Regions from separate parts of the Homo sapiens genome. Here regions 1, 2, 3, 4, 6 and 7 are each linked to region 5. The links are contacts of gene promoters, found by promoter capture Hi-C in blood cells and fetal thymus (Javierre and others, 2016). All regions are on one chromosome and are shown on one strand. Each heading gives the region's core, a stretch centred on a gene start or on the middle of the fragment in contact. The rest is flanking DNA. Distances are from core to core; before and after follow the strand shown. Region 1 holds the start of LINC00384 (long intergenic non-protein coding RNA 384). Region 2 has its middle 19 kb from the start of HMGB1. Region 3 has its middle 60 kb from the start of HMGB1. Region 4 has its middle 7.8 kb from the start of LINC00365. Region 5 holds the start of KATNAL1 (katanin catalytic subunit A1 like 1). Region 6 has its middle 19 kb from the start of LINC00384. Region 7 has its middle 59 kb from the start of USPL1.

Region 1 (2,700 bases), core at 104-2,603, 150 kb before region 5:
CTCTCAATATCAGCTTCTGCACAGGGCTATTTGAGAATTCACAGAATATTTTGGCTGACTTCCCTCTGAACAAGTGATCCACAAAACAAGGTGGAAGCCTCAATGCCTTTCCTGCCCAGCCTTGGAAGTCACATATCATCAGCTCTGCCACATCAGCTGGCCTCACAGACCAACCCTGATGCAGCGTGGGAAGAGACCATATGAGGTGCAAAAATCAAGGGTCATTGGGGGGTACCTTGGAGGTTGTCTATCACCTGAAATTTGATCTTGAAATGGGGACTTGCTGCACTCAGACCCTAACAACCACGTTGCATTTCTGCCTCCCTCTGCTCATCCGTAAAATGAAGCGCATTGCTGAGCACAGTTTTACTAGTTCATTCAAGCATCTGTTTCCCAAGTTAGTCTGCAAGCTGCTTAAAGATAAGGACTACAGCTTCTTTATATCTCTATCTGTATCCTCACAACATCATCTCTATCCTCTCAATGCCTTGGTGCATGCTCAACGGATGAATGGAAAGACTGGATGCTCTTCAGCAGGGACCTACAGTTTCTACTTCATCCCTGAGTTCTAATGAGCCAAAGCCCAGGCAGCTCCAGAAGCTCCAGTGTTTGACACGCAACCCCACACAGGCGGAGGTTCTAGAGCTGTATGGGTATGGATGCAGCTCCAGAAGTCTGCAGCCTTCCAGGAGGGGGGCGTGAAGACAGAACTGTACCTCCCAATCCCTCCTGACCTGACTCACATCAGCCACCAAGCTTGGGTGGACAAGGTATTCCTCGGTATTAGGTTTAATCCCAGACATTAAGATTTGGGGTGATTTTTCTTTTAGGCTTTTCTATGTATTTCAGATTTACCACAATGAATGTGTGTTTGTTTAGTGCAGAGAGAAAAATAAGGAAAAATAGAAACCTCAGTAAGCTGTTGTAATTTTTACACTGGCTTGCTCAAGCAGAGTTCCAGATCCGGCTCTTCTGTAGGATACATTCACTGAGGGGTCACCTCCCCTGGGTTTCCTCACTGTTTGTTCAGGAAGACAATGACTAATCTGTAAAATGGGAAAGTTAACCTTTACTTTCTTCTCATTTTACACAGAATTGTTTGCAATAATTAGTGAGACATTGATGGACAGATGGTTGAGATCTGGGGAGAAGACACTGGAAGGCCAGATGGCCAGTGACGAAGGAGGAGAGAATGGGATTGTTATCAGGATAACACTGACCACCCCTAAAATTGCACTGTGCCTCCACTGCCCGAATAATTACACCCATTCTCCTTAATGGATTCTGCCGGAGGGGACCTGCCTTTGAAGGCTCACATTTAATTGTTATTATCATTATTACTATAATTAGTATAATGTAATGGATTCTGGACTTCATGCATTGCCTCTATATAACAGCAAAGTTCCTAGCAGCCAGCTGGTGTAGAGGACAGAAATTCCACTTTTTCTTCAGAAGCCACTGAGAATGTAAAGACACCACTGAAATCCTCAGACTCACTAGGCCTGGCTTTAATAAGCATTTCCCCCTGTTTCTTTTTTTGCTCCCTCTACAGAAACAGCTTCTCAGTGAAAATTGTCATGACAACCTGGAGAGAGGAAACGTTCTACTGCAAGCCGAGCGTGGGGACCGAGGGTCGGCGTCACAGTGAGAGAGCCATGATGGAGGACGGGGTCACCCTGCTTGCCCAACGCGGGGAGCTCCGTCATACAGAACCCCAGTGAGTTCTGGAGGTCACGCTCTGTTTCATAAATGAAAAGCTGGGGCAGGGGCCTTGCCACACGGACACTCCTCGGGCCTCACAAGCTCCTGTGGGTGACCAGGCTGCTCCCCACCGCCGGCGTGGGCTGTTGCTACCCTGCACATCCCTCGGGTGGGCAGCGGTGCTTGAAACGCCAGCTCCCGCCCTTCCTGCCTAGTGGCTTGACGGCTTCATTGTGCTAACCACCCAGGCAAGCTTGCGTGACTAACGGAGGAGCGTCTCCCCTTAGATTCTTCCCGCCCGGAGCCGGGGACAGCAGGTTGTTTATCACGGAAGGGCTGGGAAGAGCTTTTCAGAAAGGCCTTGGGGACTCTCTGTGTGGCATGGAACAGAGAGTGCCTGCCCACCCCAGGCAGCCAGATGCAGCCCCTGCCTGCTTCCCCCTCCCTGGCTATGTGCGTTCCAGAAAACCACCTGACCTCCAGATTCTCTCTCGTCCAGTGGAGATTCTCCTGCCCGAAGGCAGGCGCTCTCCAAGGTCCCTCTCCCCAGAAGAGCCACGATCCCAGGAAGCCGGCTTGTGCAGAGGAAAGAACCGCACCTCGTTGTCAGAACAACCCCAGCTCTGCCACCTACACCTTGTGTGACCTTGGGCAAGTCAGAGAAACTTCTCAGATGCACAATCTCGTCACGCTCCTAGTTTCCAAGCCCACACACCTGAGGGTCAATGTCCCTTATTGCACCCCCACCCCATACCGACTCCATCAGCAAGTCCTGTTTGTTCTTGCCCCAAGTATCTCTCCTGTCTGCCCATTCCCTGCATCTCCCCCGTCACCACCCCGGGCCAGTCCCCGTTACCCGCACCTGGAGGTCTGCACCAGCCCCACCTGCACTCCGGCGTCCACTCTCGCCCCCATTGCTGTGATCTCCACACAACCACGAGCGGCCTTGAGAGCGCAGCGAGGCCGTGAGGCTGCGCAGAGCCCCTCAGTCAGCAGGAC
Region 2 (2,700 bases), core at 126-2,625, 180 kb after region 5:
GGGTCCTCTCACTCAGTTGCCCGGCCCAGAAACCTGAGTATCATCATTAACTCCTCCTTTCCCTCACTCCCCGCAACCAGCAAACCCTCCAGTCCTAGGGATCCTACCTCTTTAATGTGTGTCTCTGATCCCTGTCACTTCCCTTCATTTCCGAGGCCACCTTCTCCTGCTCACTCTACTCCAACCCTGGGCCTTAGTGTTAGGAAACTCCGAGTGACGTTTCTAAGGTAAATTATGACATTATGATCGTGATGTTCCTCTGCTTAAATAATTCCTGCATGACTCCCTGTTGCCCACAAGAGAACGTGCAAATTTCTTTTTTTTTTTTTTTGAGTCAGGGTCTCCCTTTGTCACCAGGCTGGAGTGCAGTGACATCATCTGGGCTCACTGCAGCCTCTGCCTCCTGGACTCAAGCGATCCTCCCTCCTCAGCCTCCTGAGTAGTTGGGGCCACAGACACGCACCACCACACCCAACTAATTTTTAAATTTTTTGTAGAGATGGTGTCTCACCATGTTGCCCAGGCTGGTCTCAAACTCTTGGGCTGAAGCAATCCTCCTGCCTCAGCCTCTCAAAGTGCTGGGATTATAGGTTTGAGCTACTGCACCCAGCCGAATGTTCAGCTCTTAGCAGAGCATCCTAGGCCACTCATGGTCAGGCCCTGCTTCTCTGTCCTGCCCATGCTGAAGCTCCCATCCTGAGCCACTGGGAGGTCCTGGGATGGTCATGCTCTCTCAGGCCTTGATGTCTTTCCAGCAGGATAACCTTACACCTGTCCAACTCATGCTTGTCTTTCAGCTCTGAGAAGCTGCCCCTGACCATCCCATTCAGAGCTTGGCTGTGGGGGAAGCAGTCCCTTGGTACCCCCCATCCCAGCCTGAGCTGCCCCTCCTTGGCAATGTCTCCAGGGCCAGGGTCTGTACTACCCAGGCGTCTGTGACCTTCACCTCTGTAAGCCCCTGCAGGGCAGGGTGTGCTTTCTTCCCCATTTTCCCCAGCATCTAACCTCCAGGAGCCACTCAATTCATAATTAAATGTCTAAAATGATAAAGTGGGGGAAAGTAATGAAGGAATAAGAGTCTATTACCAGCTTTGCTACCAACTACTCTATACCTGCTACTAAAACTGAGTGAAGCAGGATGCTATTTTGCCATTCCTGAAGTAGGATCTTCACCACGTTCCTCACCCTCCATCCCCCAACAACCGCTACTCTGTCTCAGGGACTGGGATGGGTATAAGAGCTTATTACATTGTTTTGTTTTTTGTTTTCACCATTAAGAAAAAATGGGCCAGGCGCAGTGGTTCACGCCTGTAATCCCAGCACTTTGGGAGGCCAAGGCAGGAGGACTGCTTGAGCCCAGGAGTTCAAAACTAGCCTAGGAAACATTGTGAGACCCTGTCTCAAAAAAAGAAAGAGAGAAAGAGAGAGAGAGAAAAGAAGGAGGAGGAGTAGGAGGAAGAGGAAAGAGGAGAGGAGAGGAGAGGAGAGAAGAAGAGAAGGGAAGAAAAGAGAAGGGAAGAGAAGAGAAGAGAAGGGAAGATGACATGGAAGTGGAAATACACAGTGCAATCTTTTATTCTATAGATTACTCTTCTTCCAGGAGACAAAGAGCCAAGGGGATAAACAGCCAAAGGACCTCTCACAGCTGGGTAAATGTGCAAAAAATGGGAGATAAGTATTAATATAGCAAAGAGTGAAGCATTTCATGGAAAACATTTCTTTTTTTCTTTTTCTTTTTTTTTTTTTTTGAGACAGAGTCTCACTCTGTTGCCCAGGCTGGAGTGCCATAGTGCAATCTCGGCTTACTGCAATCCCCACCTCCCGGGTTCAAGTGGTTCTCCTGCCTCAGCCTCCCAAGTAGCTGGGACTACAGGTATGAGCCACCACGCCCAGTTAATTTTTGTATTTTTAGTAGAGAAGGGTTTCACCATGTTGGTCAGGCTGGTCTCAAACTCCTGACCTCAAGGAATCCACCCATATTGGCCTCCCAAAGTGCTGGGATTACAGGTGTGAACCACTGTGCCCAGCAGGAAAACATTTCAAATGTACTTTTAAGATGAGAGACCCTAACTCCCACTTATAACATAGGAAGGCAACTTGGGAGACACTGGGGGCAGCCCCCAAAGGGCACCAGCTCAGCATGCCGCAGCCATCACAAAGCCACCAAACTGTGTGGTGTCACCGGAAAACACGGAAAACACCAGTGTCCTGCCTTGAGTACCTATGACTTTTTTTAGAGCGAGGGTCTCTCTAGAGATGGGCAACAAAAATAATCAAGTGCATGCTGAGACTTATAAATAAAAGTAGATAAAGAGAAGAAAAGACAGCAGATCTGCAATCACTAACATCAAAGGAAAAGCGGGAGCATGAGGAAGATAAGTCATGAAAAGCACAGGTAGGGTGAACCTACAAGACTAGAAATAGTGGAATTCCTTAAAGTTTGACCAAAGTAACTTAGGGACGCTTATGGGGAAAATATTACAGTATCTTACAATAGTATTTTAAATACTCTTTGCTGTTCATTAGACTAGTAAGTAGTAGTTTAAGGAAGATTTATGGAATTTTAGAACACAGTTATAATCAAATCCAGCATCCCTATGTCTTAGATGAAAGAAATTGGATCTAGAGAAAGTCAGTGCCTTGCCCGGGGCCATACACCACCTTACAGCAGAGCTGAAGCTCGAACCCTTGATTTCTATT
Region 3 (2,700 bases), core at 153-2,652, 220 kb after region 5:
GGGGTGGGGAGCAAGGGGAGGGAGAGCATTAGGACAAATACCTAATGTAGATGATGGGTTGATGGGTGCAGCAAACCACCATAGCACATGTATACCTATTAATAAAACCTGCACGTTCTGCACATGTATCCCAGAGCTTAAAGTATATTAAAAAAAAAAAAAAAAAAAAGAAAAAAAAGAAGAACTGCCTGAGACTGGGTGGAAAGAGGTTTAATCGACTCACAGTTGAGCACGGCTAGGAAGACTTCAGGAAACTTACAATCGTGGTGGACGGTGAAGGGGAAGCAAGGCACCTTCTTTACAAGGCGGCAGGAGAGGGAATGAATGCAGGAGGAACTACCAAACACTTATAAAACCACCATCAGGTGCCTGTAATCCCAGCTACTTGGGAGGCTGAGGCAGGAGAATCATTTGAACCCAGGAGGCAGAGGTTGCAGTGAACCAAGATCGTGCCATTGCACTCCAGCCTGGGTGACAAGAGCAAGACTCTGTCTCAAAAATAAAATAAAATAAATAATAATAATAATAATAATAATAATTTGGTGAAATTCTTCAACAGACTTGGCTAACTGAAACTGGTATATGAAGTTACCAATATTTATGTCTGTAACCATCTGCAGTTTATACACTTGAAAAGATATATAAAGATTTGGTCACATTGTATTTCACCACAGGCCCCTCCTAAGATTTATTTCTTAATTGGAACCTTGCCTGTGGTTATATATGCGTTGTTTTTTTATCACATAGTAGATATCCAACAAATAAGTATTAAACAAACAAATACATTCTTATTTGTAGGCCAGACAGAACAAATCGGCATAGTAAAATGGTTACAAATATGGCTTTGAAGTCTAACAGGATTGAGTTTAAATCCGAACTCTGCTAACTATTAAAATAATAGAAGTTTCTTAATCTCTCTAAGCTCAGACTCCATGTATAAAATGGCAAAAATAAGAATAGAAACCTCAGAGAGTAGGTGGAAGAACTGGATGATCATTGAAAGCATCTGATCATTTAAAGATAAATGATCATTCAGCACAGTGCTTTGACATTGTATGTTCCTGATAAATGACAGGTGTAATTTTGTTGTCATCACCATTGTTGTTATTTAGAAATGGCCTTTAGGGATGCACAAAATATTGCAGCAAAATGTCTCAGTATTCTTGTTCTTTGGCGTACTCCCAACCCCCACTGGTTTTTGTGACATCAGATGTGAACCACAGCAAAGGAAGAGATGAAAGAATAAAGTATCTCTCAAGACAGACTCAAAGATCCTTGACAGTAGGGCTCTGTCCTATGACTCTTTAGCCCAGTTGTTTTGCACATGGAGGTACTCACTAAATGTTTTTGATAACAAGAATATTGAGGTTCTTAATTATGTAAAAAAATTCAACATACTTAAAAGCTACTAAATGGCAAACTAATAACTTTTTGCAAAAGGAAACTAATACTTTGTTGAAAATTCTTATAAAACAAGTTGTATTTCATAAGATTGCACAGAAACAAAATATTAAACTCCATTATTAACATAAAAAAAAAAACCATCAGGTCTCACGGGAACTCACTCGCTACCATAAGAACAGCATGGGGAAATGGCCCCTGTGATTCAATTACCTCCATCTGGTCTCTCCCTTGACAGGTGGGGATTACAATTCAAGATGAGATTGTGGGGGGACACAAAGCCTAACCATATAATGGGGGTTTCGTCATGTTGCCCAGGCTGGTCTGGAGCTTCTGAGCTCAAGCGATCTGTCCGCTTTGGCCTCCCAAAGTGTTGGGATTATAGGCATGAGCCACTGTGCTCAGCCTGGCAATTTTTTTTAAAATTGGAAGGCAATATGCAACATTAAATAACCCACATCTAACAACTTTTATTTCTTTTTTTTGAGACAGGGTCTTGCTCTGATGCCCAGGCTGGAAGGCAGTAGCATGATATTGGCTCAATGCAACCACCACCTTCCAGGTTCAAGTGATTCTCACGCCTCAGTCTCCTGAGTAGCTGGGATTACAGGCATGCACCACCATGTCTGGCTCATTTTTCTATTTTTAGTAGAGATGGGGTTTCACCATGTTGGCCAGGCTGGTCTCAAACTCCTGACCTCAAGTGATGCGCCTGCCTCGGCCTCCCAAAGTGCTGGGTTTATAGGCGCAAGCCACTACGCCTGGCCCAAACACATATTATATACCACAGACTTGTGAATTATTCATTATTTCTCTAACTCTATGAGATTGTATTTTTTATTCCCATTTTGCAGATGATAAATGAAGGCTGAGAGACATTAAGACAGAGAACAGTGAGACTGGTTCTGCCTGCATATCATTTCACCTCTGAGTCTGAGATTCTTCATCCAGAGAGATCTGCAACCTCACCAGATAACCTAAAAAAAATTAAAATCAAATTGCTATAATCACAGTGCCTGCCTCATAGGGCTATTGGGACATGACGTCTACGAGGAACCTGACAGTGCTTGGCACACAGCAAGACCTTGATATGGGGAGACAGCAAGCCTGCCACCACGAGCCCTAGCTCCACCATCACTAAATGACTTGTCCCAAGACAACCAGAAAGGGGCCTCTGCCCTCTGTCGCCAAAGCTCCTCTCCATACCACAGAGCCTTCCTGTGAGAGAGTCTGTGTGTCTTTATTTCTCTTGCTGTTATCCACAAGTGTTCTAATGATTTAGCAGCACTTGGCACTGTT
Region 4 (2,700 bases), core at 18-2,517, 190 kb before region 5:
GCTTAAGGAATGAAAGAAAGGAGATGCGATAGAAAGGAAGAATGGTAAGTAAGGCCCGGAAAGTGCAGGCAGAGAATGTTATGCACCTGCATGTCGTGAACCCAATGGCAACGAAACACTTACTTGTCTGCGGGGCAAATATAGCCGCGTTGGCTCTTTCTCCTGGAACCACGGATACTTTGGCAAGGAATGAATGAGTTATAAATGCAACGTTTTCTTAAATATATTAAATACATAACACTGACCTTCACAAAGGCTTTTATCTGGAATAAGGAATGAATAAGTAGGGTAATGAATAAGAAAGTTAAATTAAAGCACCATAGAACACAGTTTGAGTAACTTTAAAAATTTTTATTTACTTAATTTAATGAAAACAAATGATAAGTAAAATGTCTTTATATGAACATCTGAAAAAGCTTATAACTCTAAATGGCAATCCTAATCCAGCTGCTATAGTCAGGCTGCTATAGCAAAATACCCTAGACTGGTAGCTTATAAACAATAGAAACTGATTTCTCACAGTTCTTGGGGCTGGGAAGTCCCAGATCAAGGTGCCAGCTGATTCAGTGTCTGGGGAAAGCCTGCTCTCCGGTTCATAGATGGTGCCTCCTAGCTGTGTCCTTACCTGGGAGAAGGAGGAAGAGCGTTCCCTGGGATCTCTTCTATAAGGGCACTAATCCCGTTCATCAGGGTGACCTAATCACTTCCCAAAGGCCCTGCCTGCTAATGCCATCACCTTGGGAGTTCAGTTTTAACGTGAATTTTGAGAGGACACAAACATTCAGACCTTAGCAGCAGCCTTTTGTTTTATTCCCCGAATACAATGTATAAATGTGGAAATGCCTGGGAATTTCAGCCATCTAAGTCAGGCAGTTAGCTTTGTGATATGGACTCCCTCTTGTAACTTACTCTGTGTGGACATCTGTTCTGTTGATTGTGTACAGAGTTGAATTTCACAGAGGCTGACGCAGCAGTGATCATTCAGACATTTCTGAATGGACGGCAAAAGAAGGAGGAGGAGGAGAAAGTAAATACCAATGACTTACTTTGCAAAGTAAATTGACAGATCCTTTGTAGACCAAATCAGCAAGGTTGGGTTGTGTCCCTCTGGGCCTGGGTTTCCCACCTCTTGTAAAACCGGGAGAGGCAGAGAAGCTAAGACAGATGGTGGGTCTCCTGGGAGGCTCAGGGCCGAGCCGGCCTCAGAGGAAGTCTCTTCATCAGCACTCGGCAGCAGCAGCGTGGAGACTGTCCTCCACCCTTCCTGAAGCCACCAGCTTGGATGGCCCAGGCTTTCTTCCCATCACTCAGTTGTCAGAGCAACAGCTTCTGGAGGGAGCCAGCCCACGGCCCTGCCATTATGCTTCCCAGTGGCAGCTGGGGGATAGGGGGCAGTTAGGAGGAACAGAAACAGGTTGACATGGATCCAGGGAGCAGAGATGGCTCACAAGTGCAGATAGGGAGTGATCTTAAATCTACAAAATATGGATGAGAGACAGCATAGGCAACACTTTAGGCTTTGTGTTAAGCCTTTTAATTCAAGTCATCAAGTGTTTACAAGTGCTTTCTAATTAGAGACGACATGGAATAATTTGAAGACAAAGAATTACGTAAAGAAGATAGTTTGCTACCCATATGTTGGTGAAAGAATAACTTTTCTGATCTAATTGGGCCAAACCAAACTAAACACCTAACACCAAAGACAGCAAGCAGTATTTGCATTATTATTTAGCAAATATTAAAGAGCTCTTGTGGCCAAACATTCTTAGTGGAAGGGGTAAAAGTCCTAGCGTCTTTGTTTATATAAAGACATATGGAAGGATATTTTATAGTAGTGGTTCTCAAAGTGTGGTTCTCAGACCAACAGCAGCAGCAGCACCTGGGGACTTAGGAATACAAATTCTCAGGTTTTGCCCCAGAACTACTGAATCTGAAACTCTGAAGATGGGGCCTGGCACCCGTGTTTTAGCAAACCCTCAGGTGATTCCAATGCACTCTGAAGTTTGAGAACCACGACGCTAATCTTATCTTCGCTGCGGTGTCAGATTTAACTAGGTTTAAAAGAGTCAGAGTAGATCTAAAAGAATGAATTTAAAATAGGGCTTGGAATATAAGAAATAAAGCTTGAAAAAATACAAAATCGTAACTCCCAACTTCTATCCAGTGCAAGACGCCCTGCATAAATCAGCAATGGAGACTATGAAAAGAGTCAGATAGGACAAAAGGGGAAGGGACTAGGTTCAATGGAACCCAGAGAGAGGCTTCCGGTGATGTGCCACAGGGTTCTGCACTGTCAGGCCCACTAAACATCTCCATGATCACTGATAAGACTAAACAAATACTCACCAAATTTTAAAACTATGAATTTAATTAAGTTGACAGCAATCCCACCTGTTTGATAGGTCTGAGAAAATGTATTAGTCCATTTTCACACTGCTATAAAGAATACCTGAGACTGGGTAATTTGTAAACAGAAGAGGTTTAATTGACACACGGTTCTACAAGGCTGGAGAGGCCTCAGGAAACTTACAATCATGGTGGAAGGTGAAGGGGAAGCAGGGCACTTCTTACATGGTGGCAGGCGAGAGAGATAGCACACGCAGAGGAAACTGTCACTATTAAACCAGATCTCGTGAGAACTCCCTCACAATCACAAGAACAGCATGGGGGAAACTGCCCCCATGATCCAATCACCCCCAA
Region 5 (2,700 bases), core at 173-2,672:
AGGATGGTTATCTACCTATTAAAAAATTTTAAAGGGTCGTCAAGGAAGGTTTCGTAAATCTGTGTCAGCTTCCTTTACCAGCAAGTCTTTGAGTCAACTCTAAGGACTCAAGTGTACTCCTGAACATAAAAAATATATAAAGAATTAACTAAATAATTAAAACATGGTATTTTTCCTTCCGAAAACATGCTGAGAAATTCTGAATAACACTGGAATAATCAAAGAATTATTGCTGCCTACTGCTAAAAAAGTCTGTTTTTAAAAGTTACTAGTAATTTAAAGCTGAACTAATCAAAATATGTGTAGGCAGTGTTCAGGCTGGCAAGGGGGGGGTGGGGTGGAGCACTCATTTCACAACCTTGAACCTCAAGAAATAAAATTCAAAAATGCAAAAAGTTAAAAATGCCAGATACCACCATATAATCGCAATGACATCTTTTTATCTATTTCCACACTTAACCTTTAAACATTACTGCCCTTTGAGTAATTACCAATTGATGGGTTTAATATGCAAACACCTCTGAGCTACTTTAAAACAAACATGACTAACCCAGAAATAAACGTATCCAGGAAAGGAGAAAAACCTGTTAAAACACGGTTTCTCAGGTCTCACATCCAATGTGTGACATACATACGGTTCTGCACCGAAAGGCAGCAACCTGCGAGGGTCAGAGGCGCCGAAGACCCGAGGCCCTGCAGCTTGGGCGGCTGCTCATCCCTGAGACTGTGCAGGGCGGTGGCCCAGCCGGGGTGGGGCTGAGCGCTGCAACTGGGGCGGGCCCAGCTACAGGGCGGGAAGCCCGAGGCTCACCTCCACTTCCCTTTCCCAACGCACAGAGCCCAGGTCCGCGACCACTCAACAGCCCCCTCAAGACAAAGAGAGATTTTTTTTTCTGTCCCGGTCCGCTCAAAGTTTATCGGTCTTTCCCGGCGGTCGGGGCCGCCGGGCTTTGTAGTTCGCCAGTCCGAGCTACCCCACCAAGACCGCGAGCCCGAGGAGTCGCTGAACTACAATTCCCATGATGCACCGCGAGCCTGGCGCTCCCGCGCCCCTCCCCGTCCCCGCACGGGAGCCAGCGCCCGAGGAACCCCGCAGCCCACTGCCCTGGCGTCTCCGGCAGTGGGAGGCCGAGAGGGGCTGTTGGCTAGAGCCCTCCACCACCTGCTGTCTCGCCCTCGCCCCTTTCTCTCGGATTCATTACCCAGAAGGCGCAGGTCCGGGCACATTCAGCGATGCGGTCCAGATGGGGTGCGGGTGGGGCGCAGGCCGCCGCCGCCGCCGCCGCCGAGTCCGTTAGCTCGCGACGTGCGTGAAAAGGCGGCGGCGGCGTAGTGTTGCCATGGCAGCCGCGGCCGCGCGGTGGGCGCAGCGCGGGAGGGAGCGCGGGGGCTGTGAGTCCGCTCTGGGGCGGAGCTTGGGACTCCCGCCCAGGTTGCCGGGGGGAGGGAGGTGCAGCGGCGCGGGGTGGGAGAGCAGGGAGACAGTGACATTGAGGAGGACGTGTGGCCGACTGAGCTCTGGTCGTGCTTGATGAGCCTGCCTCCACTGCGTCCAGCCCCCGTGGCAGGGCACCTTCGTGCCTGCTGCTTTCGGAGGTGATGCCAGTGGCGTCGAAGGAGGGGGCACCCGGGGCGTCGCAGCGCCTTTCCCGCCGCCTGTCCAGGCGTCCGCCGCTGGGTCTGCCCCCAAGGGATGTGTGGATCCTACGCCACCTCTGTGTTTTTCTCCAGTCAAACCGAATTGAAGTCTTTCGCACCCCCTTTCTCCATTCTCTGGGGAGGGGGATAGAAGGGAATCCTTCGATAAGATGGAATGCATATGGCCTTTAGGATTATTCAGGAGGTTTTAGAATTTGCAAATGGCATTGCTTTCGACTGAATTTGGATTTATGCTGTTTCTTGGCAATCGTTTGTGGACTCTAGGATAAACAGGTTAAGAGCGTGGGCTTCTAAAACGAATTCTTAGTTCACGTCCTGCCCCTGTGCTTGGTAGCTGATGACCAGAGGCGCCTTTCTCACCTCTTAACGTTTTGATCTGCAAAAATGGAGATATCCATCTTGCAACTCTTGTAAGAAATACACGCATTAATACTGATGAAGCTCTATAAAACAAAGCTTAGCATTTAACAATAGCTATTAAATATTAATTATTTAATCAATAGTGATAAAAGTCAGAATAGTGGTTGGCTGTCGGGGAGGAGTTTGAGAGAATTTTTTGTAGTGATGAAAAAATTCTATAGCTAAGAGTTTCGGTTACAGAAGTATATGCACTTGTCAAAACTCTTGGAATGGGACATTTAAGATTTGTACATTTCACTGCATGTAAATTTACCTCAAAAGAGAACATAAAAATGTGTTGTTATTATTATTAGAGCTATAGACTCTAATGGAAACTACAGAGATATTCTAGGCCCAATCTCTAGATTTTATAGATGGGAAAACTGAGGCCCAGAAATTTAATAGAAAAAAAGAGGAAGGGGAGTGAATTCGTGACCTTGTCATTTTCTAGTAATGAATATCTCCTGAAAAATTATGGTTGAAAATAACAAAAATGGCTCCTGTAATCCAGCTGAGTCATCCTACCACAGAGATTTTCTTGAACTTGACTGAGTCCCTTATCCACCTTGTGGTGTTCCCCACGGCCAATGTCCTCTCAAGGATTGCACCGTCACTTCTGGCTCTCAGTTCTTGCTTTTCCTG
Region 6 (2,700 bases), core at 70-2,569, 170 kb before region 5:
AATTGTTTATATTTATCGTGTACAATGTAATGTTTTGAAATATGTGTACCTTGTGGACTGGCTAAATCGAGCTAATTATGCATTATCTCACACACCATTTTTGCAATGAGAAGACTTAAAATCTACTCTCCTAGCAACTTTTAAGGATATAATATCTTGTTATTAACTCTAGTTACCTCGTTGTACAATAGCTCTCTTGAACTCATTCTTCCTGCACAGCCAGCCCATTGTAAGCACCAAGCTGGCAGCCGGCTCCTTTGAGAGGGCTCCTGCTTGCCTTGTGTGACACTATCGGCTGCGGCCAGCAGGGGGCGGCTTCTCCTTGTTTGAGAGAGAGCCTCGCTTGGGCTGCTGTGTGCTGAGATGAAACGCGCCTGACCAGGGACCCGCCCCCAGAACTGGCAAGGAAGCTCCTCTCAGCCTTTGCCTCTGCAGAGAGGGCCAGGAAGGGCTGGTGGAGAAACGAACGCCTCGCACGTCCTCGGTGCACATGCGTTTATTCATTATTCAGTACTTGGGGGGGCACTCACTGAGGGTTGGACGTAGAGCCGGGGTGAGGACGGCAGAGAGGAGTGAGACCCGTCCCTGCTCTTAAGGGGCTCCATGTTGGGTGGGGGCAGAGGTCCAGGCCATAGCGACGGGGACCCGGAGGCAGGACCGAGAGCCCAGAGAGTTGGTGGCGCTGCCGTCCCTGCACTGGGTGGGCCGTGCTGGGAGAAGGTCCCGGGGATCACTCCTCCTAGGCCGCCGGGGCAGTCTCTCCAGCCACCCTCTTTCCCCAGAGCCAGCGGGCTGGGGTTCTTGGTTTAGACTCTCTTCTCTCCTGTCCTGGAGGACCAGCCATTTGACGCCCTTGTCCACTGGGAGGATGTTTTCCATGATTCCACTTCTTCCCTTCCTCGGCCACCTAAGGCAGGCCGGCTTATGCGTGACTGTCAACCGAGGCAGGCCACAGCGCTGTGGGCAGGCGGTTTTGCACGTATCCTTAGTGACCCTGAAGGCCCAGCCTCTGCTGGCTGCCTGAGCCGAGGGTTTTACTTCTTTTCATTTAATCACTTTATTGGTCCTTGCCGGGAGGGAGCCCATGGGTCCTGGTAAAAGTGCATCTCCCTGTGGTTCTGGGGCTGATCCTCCTTCTGGAGCAGAAGACAGAGCTCAGTGAGGACCGCCTGTGCTGCCTGCCTGGGACGCCCCAGCCGCAGGGCCGCGCAGGCGTGTTTCTTTGAGAGCCCTCCCCTGGAAGCTCCCTTTCACTCCACCCTGTTGATAAGGCCCAGGACAAAAAGCAAGCAACCGCTGGAAACACACCTGCTGGAAACACGCCTCCAGTGCCAGCCCAGGAGGTGGTGGCCCTGTCCTGACGCCCCGTCTAGCCACCGGGCCAGAGCTGGGAGCCCCATAGTGGAGTCTGTGTCCGGCAGGTGTCTCTGGACAGCTGAGGTTCTTGTAACCAAAGAGGTTCGTTTACCTCCTTAGATCACCCAGGGACAAGTGATGTGTTTTGTGGCCTCGGATCGTTCCGTGCTGTCTCTGGTGGGTTATTTATTCAATGTTCTAGGTTGACTTGTCTGCTTTTAAAAAAAATAAAACAAAATAAAAGGAAGAGTAGGAGAAAATAAGAAATTCCAGGGTTGTTATGAAGCCAGAAATCTAAAAATAACTTCGGTAAAGACTCAGTTGTGGCTTCTCTTTATTTTGAAAGAGCAACAGCTAATGACCAAAACAGGCTAGCTTTGTCCTGGCCGGTGACAGGCCACTGGACAGTGACTGCATTGTAACCAGGGACACACGGCCTCCCGACAGACAACACTCCTGCCAGATGGGGCAGCTCGTTCAGTGAGTGACTCCTTCCGTCAGCAGGGGCAAGGGGCAGGGGCCCTAGGTCCTGCCAGCTCTGTGGCTTCCAGGGTTCCTCTGGGGGCCTCAGCTTCATCCATGTGAGCAGAGACGAACAACAGGGGAAAGGTCACCCACAGAGGATTTAAAGCAGTGGCCATAAAGACATCCACTGATCTCCAGAAAGCCAGGCACTGCGCCCTCTGCCACCATCTTCAGATCTCATAATAGTGGAGAAATATTTTGTGGCCCTTCTGGCTACCATGCACTGTGCTAATGGCTTTGTTTTTATCACTTTATTGAATTGTCACAACTCTGTAAGACACCCCACTTTACAGCCAAGAAGACAGAGGCTCTAAGAGGTGAAGTAACTTTCGGAGCTTTGCAAAGCTAGCAAGTTGCAGAACCTGGCTCTAAACCCAGATTTAACTGTCATCCAAACCCCTGCTCTAGCCAAACCCCTGCCCTAGCCTTAACTGCTATGCTGTGCTGGTTTGGCTGTAAAACCATGATTCAGTGAAAACAAATATGAGCCTGACAGAGCAGAAAGAAAGTCCTAATGTGGAGGGTTACAAAGCCTTAGGGCAGCTCCTGAGAAAGACACAAAGCCATCTCTTATGAGCTTATTCAGTCCTCTGCAAAAAGAAAGGTCCTGGACAACGTGTTCCCTGCCAGCAACTCCACCCCCTAACAGATGTTTAATTGAACACCTACTATATGCCAGGAACAGCGGGGTATAAGACCAAGCCCTCACTCTAATGAATTTGAGCCCTAGGAGGAGAGAAGCAGCAAGTCAACTACACGCAAGTGAGTGATTAAAGGAGGAAGATAAATCCAGTGGGTGAGAAATGTGGTCAAAACAGG
Region 7 (2,700 bases), core at 66-2,565, 250 kb after region 5:
GTGCTTGGCTCCCTCCTTTTTTCACATGTCTGGCATCTCTTGTGTATGCCTGAGAAGGATCCATGCTAAAATTGTAATGACATATATACCTAAATTAGCAGCATACAACTTCCAAAAACCGAGCCTATGCAAGAGCTATTAAAAAAAAAAGGATAATGAAGAGAACAGGATTTGAGTTGCTGCTTCTTGTGTTTCCCTTGGAGCCTTCCCAGGCAAATATGGATCAGAAAGCTTTTCTTGTCAATTCTAATTTGTGGTAGTCTAGAAACTTAACCCTTGCTACTTTGATCGCCTGATTTCATCTTTCAATGGAAAGGTAAAAATGATAAAATAAAACAATATTCTAGATACACTGTTCTCTGTAATTTGATGCAATTCAGTTTATATTCACTTGGCAAAAGTGAACAGTGCTGAATTTTAAGAACTAGTGTCTATATCTTACATCTCATTCTTAGCCAAAAGTGTGGAGTTTAAAACCATTTGCTCACCAAGACCTCAGCAGAAAATTTTTTAAAAAAATAACTGAAATGAAAACATAAGTCATGTAAAAAAAGATTTTTTTTTTAAGATGAAAAAATGTTCAACCTTGCTGGCTTTAGAGAAATAGGCATTAAAATGTCCGGGCTTTTAGCAATAATCCTAGTTGTTAGTGAAACACCAAGTCTGTCTCTAACAGCCATGGGCTATGAAACCTTCCTTTTTCCAAAAAGACATTCTGACAGATAGAATCAAGCCATTCAAGTGTCCCCCAGATACTGCAAATGTTGATCCTCAAAACCCCAGGAGCTTTCTTTCCTTATTCCCCTAGAGCAATAGTTTTCAAGTGTGATCCTGAACTTGTTAGAAATGCAAATTCTTGGGCCCCACCCCAGACCCACTGAATCAGAAACTCTGGGAGTAGGGCCGAGAAATGAGTTTTTCACAAGCCTCCAAGGGATTCTGATGCACGGTAAAATTTGAGGACCACCAATGCAGATGGATTATAATCTTCTTGAGGGCAAGGACCAAACTTGTTGAAGGTTAACCCTGGCTCGTGACTCACAGTAGGTGTTCAGAATGTGTTGAATGAATAAATGATCTGTACACTTTTCCAGAAAGCTCTGAATCTATAGTTACTTTTAATTTTTAAAAATATCTTTTGAGGACTTCTCTAGAAATAGGTGAGTCTGTTTCTTACATTGCCAAATGTACCTGGGGTGGGGGGTGCGGGTGGAGGAAAAATTGCCCCTGTTGAGAAGCACTGCCTTAGATCATTCCTTACCAAGGTACGTTAGGCACTGGCCTCACTCCAAGGCCAGTGCTTCCTGTGCTTCTAGAGTGGCTAGGGAAGCACACTATGGGACAACCTTTCCTCACCATTGACAATGGTCATTTACAAGACCATGGCTTATTTTACAGGGTGAACTCCCAATCCCGGTAAGATGGCCCGAGTTTCATTGCTGGTTTACTAGTTTTGCTTCCTTGGGCAGTGAATTTAAATAACCTGTCAAAAGAATGAAGTGATGGAAGCCAGACTCAAACCAACTGTGTACTCTGTCCACACCTCTTCAGCAATATGGCATATTGCAAAGTAGTGTTCAGAGATGTGCGTGTAGTAGGCTGCCTGCTCTAACACATGAGATTAAATTTAGATAGCCACATAGGGAAATCAGTTTTTAAGAAAGCGGATGGAATTCAGCTGCAAATAGATGGACACCTGGAATTCTGGGAAGTTCTAGCTGCTGCTGCTCAACTAAGGCATAACTGAACTCAAGATTTACAAAAATGTATTTCAGCCCAAGTCTCTCCATAACTACTAACAAGGGACTGAGGAGAAGAATTTATATTAAAAGGATAAAAATATCTACACTTGGAAACAGCAGATTGTGAAAGGGTATGTGACTGACAATTATTAAACAATTAAGAGTATGACTAAGATGAATATGCATTCATTCACCAAAATCTCATATTCCCAAAAAGCAGGAAAGGTAGTACAGTGAGATGGATGATGCCTTCACATGACTCAGATGTCACGTGTTTCTCACCATTGAGACCCCCAAGGCACCCCCTCCCAGCATTTACCAGAATGTGTGTGTAACTATTTACAGTGATTTGTGTAATTATTTGATTGTTTCTCTTGTATCCTGTAGCAATGAGGGTAGAGATTATATCCCACCTACCACTGCAGCTCCAGGATCCAGCTTCACAAACATTTGTTGAATGAATGAATAAGAAAAGAGGACACCCCCAAAGAGGCTGCAAGGGAAAAAGCTACAAAGACAGAAGCACCAGGAAAAAGTAGGGTCATGTAAGTCAAAGCAGGAAAAAAGTTCCATGGTGGGGTGGTCAGCAGTGTCTAATGCCACGAAGGCACAAAGTAGGATAAAGGTTAAAAATCAGCCTTTGGTTTTGGCAAATATGAAGCTTATCGGTAGCCTTAGCGAGAACAATTCCATCAGGGAGCAGAAGCTAACTGCAGTGGGTTGAGTCATCAAGCAGGCATAAGGAAGTAGGGATACCCCATTATAAGCTACTCTTTCAAGAAGCTCAAATCTGAAGGTTAGGAGAATTAGGTCAGTAGCTAGAAGGAAATGTGGAGTCGAGGGGCTGTTTTTCCTCCCAAGGAGTATAAAGGTGTAACGTTGCATGAAACCACTTCAGACAAAGGCCGATATCAATAGAGAAGTTAAAACGCACGCCTCAAGATTTGGGAAGGCTTGG

The links. Contacts are between HindIII fragments. The CHiCAGO score rates a contact against its expected background, and 5 or more counts as called.
Region 1: a fragment that was not itself captured here is called in contact with the fragment with the promoter of KATNAL1 in region 5 in 4 of 17 cell types (naive CD4 T cells, fetal thymus, naive CD8 T cells and 1 more); the score reaches 6.8 in naive CD4 T cells.
Region 2: a fragment that was not itself captured here is called in contact with the fragment with the promoter of KATNAL1 in region 5 in 1 of 17 cell types (naive B cells); the score reaches 5.4 in naive B cells.
Region 3: a fragment that was not itself captured here is called in contact with the fragment with the promoter of KATNAL1 in region 5 in 3 of 17 cell types (naive CD4 T cells, naive B cells and non-activated CD4 T cells); the score reaches 6.8 in naive CD4 T cells.
Region 4: a contact is called between a fragment that was not itself captured here and the fragment with the promoter of KATNAL1 in region 5, in 3 of 17 cell types (naive CD4 T cells, fetal thymus and naive CD8 T cells). The highest score is 7.5, in naive CD4 T cells.
Region 6: a fragment that was not itself captured here is called in contact with the fragment with the promoter of KATNAL1 in region 5 in 8 of 17 cell types (naive CD4 T cells, fetal thymus, total CD4 T cells and 5 more); the score reaches 9.6 in naive CD4 T cells.
Region 7: a contact is called between a fragment that was not itself captured here and the fragment with the promoter of KATNAL1 in region 5, in 7 of 17 cell types (naive CD4 T cells, non-activated CD4 T cells, total CD4 T cells and 4 more). The highest score is 9.0, in naive CD4 T cells.

What each region holds. Positions count from the first base shown.
Region 1 is chr13:30,152,124-30,154,823 of GRCh38, forward strand. It overlaps LINC00384 (long intergenic non-protein coding RNA 384), which reads right to left and starts at 951. Exons shown (of 2, transcript NR_138041.1): 1 at 911-951; 2 at 1-26. It overlaps LINC00385 (long intergenic non-protein coding RNA 385), which reads left to right and starts at 1,639. Exons shown (of 2, transcript NR_187533.1): 1 at 1,639-2,700. RefSeq lists an enhancer at 1,136-2,335. The HindIII fragment of the contact is 1,198 bases long and covers 755-1,952 here.
Region 2 is chr13:30,483,302-30,486,001 of GRCh38, forward strand. It overlaps a transcript of HMGB1 not described here. Among named protein-coding and RNA genes, the nearest start is that of HMGB1, 19 kb to the left of the region's middle. The HindIII fragment of the contact is 4,231 bases long and covers 1-2,700 here.
Region 3 is chr13:30,524,189-30,526,888 of GRCh38, forward strand. It overlaps a transcript of HMGB1 not described here. Among named protein-coding and RNA genes, the nearest start is that of HMGB1, 60 kb to the left of the region's middle. The HindIII fragment of the contact is 4,367 bases long and covers 1-2,700 here.
Region 4 is chr13:30,115,297-30,117,996 of GRCh38, forward strand. No RefSeq gene overlaps it. Among named protein-coding and RNA genes, the nearest start is that of LINC00365, 7.8 kb to the left of the region's middle. The HindIII fragment of the contact is 1,707 bases long and covers 415-2,121 here.
Region 5 is chr13:30,306,129-30,308,828 of GRCh38, forward strand. KATNAL1 (katanin catalytic subunit A1 like 1) reads right to left here and starts at 1,423. Exons shown (of 11, transcript NM_032116.5): 1 at 1,203-1,423. RefSeq lists silencers at 1,058-1,167, 1,198-1,427. The HindIII fragment of the contact is 2,852 bases long and covers 1-2,113 here.
Region 6 is chr13:30,132,422-30,135,121 of GRCh38, forward strand. No RefSeq gene overlaps it. Among named protein-coding and RNA genes, the nearest start is that of LINC00384, 19 kb to the right of the region's middle. The HindIII fragment of the contact is 7,366 bases long and covers 1-2,700 here.
Region 7 is chr13:30,557,955-30,560,654 of GRCh38, forward strand. It overlaps a transcript of HMGB1 not described here. Among named protein-coding and RNA genes, the nearest start is that of USPL1, 59 kb to the right of the region's middle. The HindIII fragment of the contact is 2,172 bases long and covers 230-2,401 here.